Linked DNA regions of Homo sapiens: region 1 is linked to region 2. The links are contacts of gene promoters, found by promoter capture Hi-C in human tissues and cell types (Jung and others, 2019). All regions are on one chromosome and are shown on one strand. Each heading gives the region's core, a stretch centred on a gene start or on the middle of the fragment in contact. The rest is flanking DNA. Distances are from core to core; before and after follow the strand shown.

The links. Contacts are between HindIII fragments. The study calls those that stand out against the background at their distance.
Region 1: a fragment that was not itself captured here is called in contact with the fragment with the promoter of STEAP1 in region 2 in 1 of the 25 tissues and cell types used here (aorta).

What each region holds. Positions count from the first base shown.
Region 1 is chr7:90,351,820-90,357,379 of GRCh38, forward strand. It overlaps GTPBP10 (GTP binding protein 10), which reads left to right. Exons shown (of 10, transcript NM_033107.4): 2 at 997-1,190; 3 at 2,639-2,730; 4 at 3,267-3,411. LOC107986715 (a long non-coding RNA gene) reads right to left here. Exons shown (of 4, transcript XR_001744961.2): 1 at 3,888-5,560. Among named protein-coding and RNA genes, the nearest start is that of GTPBP10, 7.9 kb to the left of the region's middle. The HindIII fragment of the contact is 5,652 bases long and covers 1,294-5,560 here.
Region 2 is chr7:90,151,629-90,156,924 of GRCh38, forward strand. It overlaps STEAP1 (STEAP family member 1), which reads left to right and starts at 2,841. Exons shown (of 5, transcript NM_012449.3): 1 at 2,841-2,915. The region is part of intron 2 of STEAP2-AS1 (STEAP2 antisense RNA 1); the gene reads right to left. RefSeq lists an enhancer at 1,057-1,597. The HindIII fragment of the contact is 4,545 bases long and covers 904-5,296 here.

The DNA of each region.
Region 1 (5,560 bases), core at 2,870-5,369, 200 kb after region 2:
AGAGTAGCTGGGACTACAGGCGCCCGCCACCACGCCTGGCTAGTTTTTTTGTATTTTTAGTAGAGACAGGGTTTCTCCATGTTAGCCAGGATGGTCTCGATCTCCTGAACTCGTGATCCGCCCACCTTGGCCTCCCAGAGTGCTGGGATTACAGGCATGAGCCACTGCACTTGGCTCATAAGCATTTTTTTAATGCATGGTTTTTGAGTAAAGGAGAAACATGATTAGAGATCAGATCAATTTCAGAAAAATAGTTCAGGCAACAAGTTGGAGAATGCAATAAGGAAAAAATGCCTAAACACTGAAAGGAGCTCATGTGGTGCAGGTACTAGGGCAGTGGTACTGGAGAGAAGAGAGTAGGGCTTTGGGAAAAGAAGCAGGTGTAGTCTGAAAGACTTCCATTTGTGTAGTCTCAATGAATATGTAAACCATGGTTCTGTTACTTTAGAGAACATTGGAGGAACAGATTTTACCTGGGGAAGAGTTTGGTTTTGTTATGTTAACATTTATTTTTGAGGTGGCTATTATTCAACTGATATGTAAGAACAAGTTTCATATTGGGGAATTTCAAATATAAGTTAAATACACATTCTGCTCACATTTGCTTTATACTATTAAAAGCTTTCATCCTGGTGGAAATGTCTGACAGATTGGACATAGAAAATATCTCACCTAGGTGATGGTTATTGGTACAAGCAGAAATTACCCAGGGGAGAAAGTCTAGAATGAAAACAGGGCCAAGTCAGAAACCCTCAGGATAGGTGGGACAATAATTGATAACTGAAAAAACTAAAAGGGACTTAAGAGAGATAATCAAATGGGAAAGGGGGTCAGATCGGAGATGTGGAGGTGAGCTAAGAAAATGTTATAGAATTGGCATGTGAAAAGCTATTAACGACTTTTTTAGAAGAAGTTTTAGTGGAAGAAAGAACTAGAAAAAGGTTCTAAGGTGATACACTTTTGGTATACAAATATTCTTTCTCTTTTTTTTTTAAGTATGGAAATTTCATCGATAAGCTAAGACTCTTCACCAGGGGAGGATCCGGTGGAATGGGTTATCCTCGTTTAGGTGGAGAAGGTGGAAAAGGTGGTGATGTCTGGGTTGTAGCCCAGAACAGAATGACTTTAAAACAACTTAAAGACAGGTATCCTCGGAAACGGTTTGTGGCTGGAGTAGGAGCAAACAGCAAGTAAGTAATTACTGAATGACTTAAATTTTAGAAAATCAAACCCTTCTGGAAATTTTTTTTTTAGTTACAAAATAAAAACTTAATTGTTAATTTGAAGTAAATTATTTCCTGTATTTATAACCAAGCAAAAGCCTAAAATGTCTCAACTCATAAAAGACTGATACTAAAGAATATTTCAGAGTTTTAAAACTTTCTGTCCGTTTCTTTTCCCAATGTCTATCTGTATTCTTTTTGCACTTCCCCTGTAGAAACCGATAATTATCTGAATTCCCACTGTTTTCTTCTAAAATTATCTTTGACAACCTTTTAGAAAACTTTCAGTCTTAACCATGCTACTCTACCCCACCACCATTAGAAGGCAAGATAACCACTATTAACCTTTTCTTGACTTTTCTAAGACTTTTCTGTGTGTTTACACAAATGCAATTATGTGCCTAAAAGTTTAGAATACAAAAATGAGAGTACAGTATTTTACAATCTGCTATTTTTACTTTTTTTCACATGTCAAAATTATTCAGAATACCTGCATAATAAATAACTATTTTGTCATTTGTCTATTTAGGTTATTGTTGATTTTTTTTTCCGATTATAACCACAGTGCAGCATTCTGTGTAGATACTATTTTACATGTTTGTTCAATTATTATTTTGATAAATTCCCAGAAGTAGAATTACTAAAACATTTGTACTAATTTTTTCTTTTATGAGCAGTTTAAGAGTAGCCAGATTTGCCTTCTATAATGTAAGTACTCTCATTTGAGGTTAGTTTTTTAAAAGCTTTGCTATTTGGTGGATTTTCTTTTTTTTTTTATAGATTCATTTTTTCTTTTTTTTTTGAGACAGAGTCTCATTCTGTTGCCTAGGTTGAGTGTAGTGGGCACTATCATAGCTCACTGCAGCCTCTACCTTTCAGGCTGAAGTGATCCTCCCACCTCTGCCTCCCAAGTAGCTGAGACTACGGGTATGTGCCACCATGCCCAGCTAATTTTTAAATTTTTCTTTTTTTGTAGAAATGGGGTCGTGCTATGGTGTTCAGGCTTGTCTTGAACTCCTGGACTCAAGAGATCCTCCTGCCTCCGCCTCCCAAAGTGCTGAGATTACAGGCGTGAGCCACCACGCCTGGCTTTTTCTACCCTATTTGTATTGTAGCAATAATCTCTTCATTTCATGGTTGCAATATTTTAGTTTCGGGTTAAAATGACCTTTGGTGGTTAGCTTAGTAACTTAAATCATTACTTAATGCCATTTTAGTGGGATATAATAGTCTAAAATGCAAAGAAATAATTAGGGATAATTTTAGTTTTTTTAAACCCCGTGTTTGACCATTTAACATCTGCGTTAACCAGAGAATTGATTGCTACTCTTCTTTGTAAACCATTTTGTGTGTATGTGTGTGTGTGTATATATACACACACACATACATACATATATATACTTTTTTTTTGGTAGAATTAGTGCACTGAAAGGCTCCAAAGGAAAAGACTGTGAAATCCCTGTGCCTGTGGGTATTTCAGTAACTGATGAAAATGGTAAAATTATAGGTGAGTGTACTATAACTCCAAAAGTTGTAAAAATGTGCACGTTTTCTAAAATGAAACAATGGAATAGCTTCTCTTGAGTTTCAGAAGATTTTTTAACTAACAATTTTAGCTACTATTCTATAAGAGAGCATTTTTAAAACTTATAAAAGTTAAATTGACTGCTAGATTTAAGATTGTTTTAAAGATGTTACAGTTCTTACTTGGTCTTAAAATATATAACTAGGCTCTTTTCAATTGTTTACTGAAGTGTTTTTCTGGGGTCAAACTTTTAATAGATTTGTAAATTGGAATTTCCTGGACTGTTTTTCTGAAAGAACAATATTACATTAATGATTCTACTTATTAATTATAGATTTGTAATTGAGAATTTCCTGGCATGTATTTTTGAAAGTAAAATATTACATTAATGATTTCACTTACTAATCTATAGATTTGTAATTTTGCATTTCTTTGCCTGTATTTCTGAAAGAAATATATTGCATTAGTGATTTCACTTATTAATCTTTGCTGTAAGTATTTCTCTCCCTCTTTTTAAGGAGAACTCAATAAAGAAAATGACAGAATTTTGGTAGCTCAAGGAGGTCTTGGTGGTAAATTACTTACAAATTTCTTACCATTGAAAGGCCAGAAACGAATAATTCACCTTGATCTAAAACTTATAGCTGATGTAGGCCTAGTAGGGTAAGTATCGTTCATATTTTTATTATTATACTTTCAGAGAGAGAGTTCTTGAATAGAAAATAAATGTAAATGGTAATTTGGGGCCATAATTATTTCTAATTTATGGAATTTGTGTGTTGTGTATGTACTTGGAAAATATGCTGCTAAATATTATTTTCAAATTGCCAACACAGAGTTTCATAGTTATTGCTTATTTATAAAATTAAGACCAGAGCAATTGAATAGATCAGTGGGAATGTTAGAGAATGCATAAAGAAAGAAAAATCAATCAAATGCAATATTACAAGATGGTTAAATAATGTTACCAGATATTAATAATAAATCCAAACAAACCGTATTATTATTAAAAATATATAGAAGGAAATAAACAGGGAAAAATGGTTGACATAACTCTTTTGGGTCTTAATAGAGACATTAAAGTATCGTTAATCAAATGGCTAAAGACCAGTACAGACAATCTCAATCCTCAGACTTACGCACTGTTGCCGCCAAATTGAATCCTGCTATGACTGTATATCCTTCTTGCCTCTGCTTAGGATCTATCTAGTCTCAGCAATGTAGGCCTCACAAGAGTGTCCTCTTCCACCAGCCTCCATTCTTTCATTAAATAATGCTGTTTAGCTGTGGGGTTTGCAGTGCAGCTGCCCACTGGAAGGGGATAGATAGTAAGATACAGAATACATAAAGGAAGAGAAAACTTCAATTTGCATTTGCTCTCTCTCCCCCATCCCCCCTCCCTCCTATCCTCTCCCTCTGGCCCTATCACAGTATTACACAGTTATTCAGATGGAAAGCTTAAGGACAAGATAAGGAAAACTGCCTTATTACTGTCCTACTCCAAATTCCTAGTTCTATTTTTTGCTTCCCCATAGCTTCTTTCTAAGTTCTTTTCATGTTCCTCTTCAGTCATCTCACTGCTTCTTTACCAGACTCTTAAGTCTGTATCCCTCGTCTTTTGCCCTGCCTGACCAGCCACTAGAGCTTACCACCATTGGTTTAGGGTTCACAGAGGCCCCATTCCTGCTAAAATTATAACAAGGAAAGATGTGATCCTGGCTTGCCATTTACATTTATTTTTTTCAATAAAGCACAGTTACAAGAGTTATTAGATGTAAGTTCTATAATCCTCTATATTTTTAGGAACATTATGGGCTTAATAGGGTCTTATGGACAAGACTGGCAGTCCAGCCAATCACAGTTGCATTTTGCATAAACATGTGTTTCAAGTTCTGAAGAGACAACTTTACAGTCTAAGAGGAGCCTAGCACGGCTTAGTCATAAAAGTGGAGTGGCATGGAGGACTCAGGTTAGACTATTTAGGTTAGGATCTCAAATCCTCTGGAGGCTGGCCAGCTGGTCTTGGGTAAATTACACAGCCTCTCTAAGCCTTTGTTTTCTCTTCTTTTTTTCTTTTCTTTTCTCTCATTCTTCCTTCACTATAGTTTTTTGCTTTTCACCACGTCATTTGTTTTCTCATCTTTAATAGTGTATGGAGATAAGTCTTTCCTTAAAATGTTGGTGGGTAAGATAATGCATTTACAGCAGAATACATGCTTTGCATTTTTGTACGTTCAATGAATTGTAGCTGCTATCTTCATCATCATTATATTGCCAACTTACTGGAAAACTGCATATAATGAAATACTAGGCTTTTCAGAAGTAGGTTTGAAATTTGTCTGTAATTAAAGCATCAAGATTCTTAAGCATATCAAACAAGAATGGGGGAAAAAGATTTTTAAGTGGAATGTTTAACATATTTTCTAGTGTTTTTAAATTAGGCAACTATTCTTGAAGAGTTACTACTATGAATACTAGCATAAGTAGATATCCTTTTAGCTGGTTTTGGAAATGGACTGAATCACAGAAGAAAGTTATTGTACAACTAACAGATTTGTGCTGCTGTTGTCAGATCTGATCTTTGCATAGGTTGGATTTTAGCCTGTAAAATTTTCACTGGGTACTTTTCAAGAAAAATTTCAAATATCTGTTATTCAGTCATTAGCATCATCTTTCTATTCATACTTTGATCTTCTTGGAAATAGTTGCTTGCATTATGTGCTCAATCATTATGAAAATATGAGGATGTTGGAAACAAGCAAGTCCAGCTAGTGATAATTATGGATAAAAACAGCTGCAATTTGCTTTTCAA
Region 2 (5,296 bases), core at 1,591-4,090:
ACTGTCTATTTCTCATTGTGATTATCTTTAATAGTATGATATTTTTTATTTTATCTCTCACACCATAGTATTTCATTTACTTTTAAAATGGTCGTCTCATCAGGTTCTAAGATCAGGTTGCTTATTTGACAGGCAAAAATACTCGTGGATTCTAAATTATATTTTCTCCACAGCATGTTATTATGAAGTCACCAGTTTAGTATTTGACCTCAAATAACACTGAGGTCCATTATGTTAATATGCGCTCTCACTATAGTTTAAGTTTATTACAGAATATTCTGAAAGATCCAAATTTATTGGTAACTCATGGGCGAACTCCCATTTTAAATCCTCTAGTTGTTTAGAGTCACAGCAAAACTAGCAACTTGCCTTTCAACATTTGCAATAGCATAATGTGGCTTTCCACAAGCCACACTTGTTTTTAAAAGTATGTGCTAAAGAGGCTGACTCAGCATTCTGAGATGCTCTGGCATTGTATTACCCGCCCCCACCACAAAAATTTTTTTTCTTTATCTCACACCTCAAATTACAGGTTATTTGTATGCAAAAATTGCAGATAGTTCATCTATGATACTAACTCCTGGCAACTCAATAAAAGCTTTTTAGTAATATGTTTTTCTTAATCGAATATTGTGTTTCTTTTATAATATCTACAAACTAATTGATAAATAATCTCACACTTTTAATCATTTTACTTTGGAACATACTCTATTTATTCTCCACACTAAAATATTGGGCAAAAAAACCTTTTATAAGAAGTGCAGAAATAAAATTGCTAAAGTCTAATTATAAAACAAAAATATTTGGGGTTTGATTTTAAATGTTTTAATTAGAAAAGGAAAAGCAGTTTTAAGTGCAGCTTGCTATATAGCCATATTCATATGAATATATATTATTATGTTAACACAATAATAACTCTTTGCCCTTTTCATATGGAAAATAGATTGTGAAAAACAGAATGACCTTTGTTCTACCAAATGTTAAACAATAAAAGCATATCGTTTTGTCTGACCATTTAAGACCCATGATCACTTTTAAAACTCAACAATGCTTAGTTAAAAAGTCTTAATTCTTTGTAGTCTGTGCTACACATACAAAGATTACACAGATTTCTTTTCTAAAACTTTTAAATTATTTTCTAGTTTCACTAGAAACAACAGGTGTAAGATTCTATTTCCACCACAAGGTGTCAGTCCACGGTAATTTAAGCTTCAAAGGGCTTTAAACTAATCCAAGGAAAGTCAGTGACTACAGAAAATACTTATATTAAAACATGCTTTGTTAAACGGATGCTTGAAGGCGGCATGCTAGTTAAGAGTCATCACCACTCCCTAATCTCAAGTACTCAGGGACACAAACACTGCGGAAGGCCGCAGGGTCCTCTGCCTAGGAAAACCAGAGAACTTTGTTCACTTGTTTATCTGCTGACCTTCCCTCCACTATTGTCCTATGACCCTGCCAAATCCCCCTCTGCGAGAAACACCCAAGAATGATCAATAAAAAAAAATAATAATAATTAAAAAAAAAAAAGTAAAAAAAAAAAAAAAAAAAAAAAAAAAACATGAACAGTCTTCGGTGCCCTAGCAGTGAATAAAAAACAATCATGGAAAATGTGGTTGCGCGTTTATTTTCCTTTGTGTTTTCTACTCAGCTTAGTCCTGAGAATGTTGTATACCAAATCCCCAGAATTTTGCAATTCATGTCTCAGACCCTATCTTGAGGCTGGTTCCAACGGAGAGAAGTAAATCCCCTGCTCAAGTTGTCTTTTTCTAAAACCTTGGAATATTAACAGTTAACTTTACTTTAGGTTTGGAATACTTCATTGAGCTAGGATATGGGAAGCTGCACTTAAAAGCTAAGGCAAGGAAGGGAGGGACGGAGTAAACATGGGGTTTAAGGGTTTTTTTTTCGGCTGGGGAGCAGGGTTTGTGCGATTAAAGGTACACAATTTGAACAATTCAGGGAGCAAGTCACTCTCAGAAATTCAGCTTCGGATTCCTCAAACTGTCAATCACAGCCACTTCAGGACCGGCTGTTAGGTTTTAAATAAGGTGGCTGGGCGCGGTGGCTCACGCCTGTAATCTCAGCACTTTGGGAGGCCGAGGCGGGTGGATCACGAGGTCAGGAATTCAGGACCAGCCTGGCCAAGATGGTGAAATCCCCGTCTCTGCTGAAAATACAAAAATTAGCCGGGCACAGTGGCAGGCGCCTGTAATCCCAGCTACTCGGGAGGCTGAGGCAGGAGAATCGCTTGAACCCGGGGCTGGAGGTTGCAGTGAGCCAAGATCGCGCCACCGCACTCCAGCCTGGGCAACAGACTGAGACTCCGTCTCAAAAAAAATAAAAATAAAATAAAAATAAATAAGCTAACGTGTGGGAGGGTTTGTAAGCTCTAAACGGTCTATCTCAAAGTGTGATCTGGGAATGCTTCCATATCTCATGGGAACTTGTTACAAATGAGAATCTCAGACCCCATCCCAGACATACTGAACCGGAAACTGTGGGCGGACAGCCCAACAATCGGTGTTTTAATAAGCCCCCGGGTAATCTTATACACGCTAAAGTCTGAGAACCACTGCTCTAGAGAAATGCACAAACGTTCCTTAGTGGAGATTAAACAAAAGGCGAGGGGTTGGAGGGCGCGAAACGGACCTCAGGTGCAGGGCAGACGGCATTTGAGAGGAAACTGGGAGAGGCCGGAGTGCGACTTGGGGAGTCTTAGCCTCCAAGGACGTTCCGGAACCCTGCGGACGCGGGGCGCCAGCAGGTGGCGCTGGACGCGCAACGGACAAGGAGGCGGGGCCTGCAGCTGGCTTGGAGGCTCCGCGCTCTGGAGGCTCAGGCGCCGCGTGGGGCCCGCACCTCTGGGCAGCAGCGGCAGCCGAGACTCACGGTCAAGCTAAGGCGAAGAGTGGGTGAGTCCCTTGAATCGTTCTCACTGGCCGTTTGCTCCTCGAGTCCGCCCGCGTGTCCCTGCAAGGCTGGGCGCCCGCTCCCAGTCTTGGGAGGGGTGTAGCGGGTCGCAAGCCTTCTCGTGACCTGGACAGCGGCCCTCCTGGGCGAGCGCTGCTCAATTCTCCGCTTATGCGCGGCTCTGGGGCGCGCTGCCTTCCAGCCCAGCTGGGTTGTGGCCGGGCCGGGGGTTGGGGAGAGCCAGGGACTCACAGGAAGCCTTTTCGCTAGGGGCTTAAGGTTGTGGTAGATTATTAAGTTTGTGCTCAGGTTGGATTTTGATGGCAAGTTTTTTAACGTGGCAAAGTTGCCAGAGTTTGCTGTGCATTGACGAATGACTGGTGCACAGTACTTAAAATCGTGCTACTTCTCGTCTTCGGGTTTCCTGGTAACAGAGGTTTTCATTTTTAGTCCTTAGAACACTGGCCCTACTCTTTCAGGATCTGGGTGGGGTTCAGGTTCCCTCCAAAATAGTCAATCAAGGCTTTAAATATGTAATTCTGGTCAAATCCACTGGAAGGTGTTTGTAGACATAAATTTTTTGTACACTTCCAAATTTCTTACTTTGTTACTTTTGTAAAATACATTTCCCTCCACATCCTGACGTGTAATAAAAGGTTATTCATTTAACATGAATGTTAAGCACAGAGGGAAAGCAATGCTTAAAAACAGCCCAGTGAAAAAAAAAAACAAAAAACTCGACTTCACTTAGTTAAATGTAAAACAAGTGTGCACTTGAAAGTATAAAAGGTTGGAAATGCAATGCAACCCACAGTGTATTCCAGGCATTGGGTTTCTTCATATTCTCAACTGCGGGACATAAACATGAGTAAGTTGGGCTGTGCCAACATTTAGGAACACCAGGGCAGCCATCCTGGTACAGCAAAACAGCAGTCGCATTAGAAATATGCTTCACTTTTTTTAAAAGGGGGTGAAAGAGAACTTTGGGTCGAATTCTGGAGTTCCTAACATTTTAACACCAGGTTGTTTTCTGTTATTTTTCTTTTTATGAAAAGATTTTACTGTAGAACTTAAATTTCATTTTGGTTAATGTCTGATGGAAACCAACAAATTTATTTGACTCATAGTTTATTTTCCTGGCTTATGGGCATAGAGTTGACTGTGGGCCACACAGTCAACAAGCTTCCTCACTGTCATGGGCTTTTCCTTGGCTTTGCTCTTGAGTGTGGTCTCCTTACCATGCAGACAAATGGCTGGGTAACTCTCCAGGGCCACTCTGGTTTTCCACCCAGACTCCGTTTGTAGTGGCCATCAGTCAGCAAACACTGCCAACCTGCTAGCTACCCCAGGACTGGGTCTAGAAGACAGCGCTGAGCCTTTTCCTCTACTTCCCTTCCCATGCCACCATCTGCCTGTAAAACTTTATCCTCCTCTAGGATACATCGCTCTACCATGCAGTTGAAATGCCTGCCTTCTCTCCTAGACCTCAAGGTTTTTCAGAGCAGAGGCTTTATCTCATTTAACTTTGCATTCCTCCTGCCTTACATTGTTGTTCACAATATAGTTAATGAATTCATATTGAATAAATGTAGGTGGATTTGTTAGCATCCTTACGATACTGCAACCCTCAAAGTTAAAAGATCTTCTAAACATAGTGAATTATTTCTTACATTTGATTATAGTAGGTGACACTTCCATTCCTAGCACCTCCCTCCCCCACCCCACAAACTATTATGTTGGTGATATGGTTTGGAGCTGTGTCTCTCCCTCAGATCTCATGTTGAAATGTAACCCCCAGTGAGGGAGCTGGGGTCTGGTGGGAGGTGATTGGACCATGGGAGCAGTTTCTCATGGTTTAACACCATCCCCCCTTGGTGCTGTTGTCACGTTAGTGCAGGGGTACCCAACCCCGTGGCCGCAGACTGGTATCAGTCAGTGTCCTTTTAGGAACTGGGCTGCACAGCAGGAGGGGAGTGGCAGGCCAGCGAGCATTACTGCCTGAGCTCCACCTCCTGTCAGATGAACAGTGGCATTAGATTCTCCTAAGTGCATGAACCCTATTGCAAACTGCACATGCAAGGGATCTAGGTTGTGTGCTCCTTATGAGAATCTAACTATTGCCTGATGATCTGAGGTGGAACAGTTTCACCTCAAAACCCTATCCCCCTTCCCCTACTTGGAAAAATTGTCTTCCACGAAACCAGTCCCTGGTGCCAAAAAGGTTGGGGACCACTGCGATAATGTAAGACGCCTGCTCCCACTTCACCTTCCGCCATGACTATAAGCCCTCTGAGCCCTCCCCAGAAGCAGATGTTGCCATGCTTCCTTTACAGCCTATGGAACCATGAGCCAATTAAATCTCCTTTCTTTATAATAATTACCC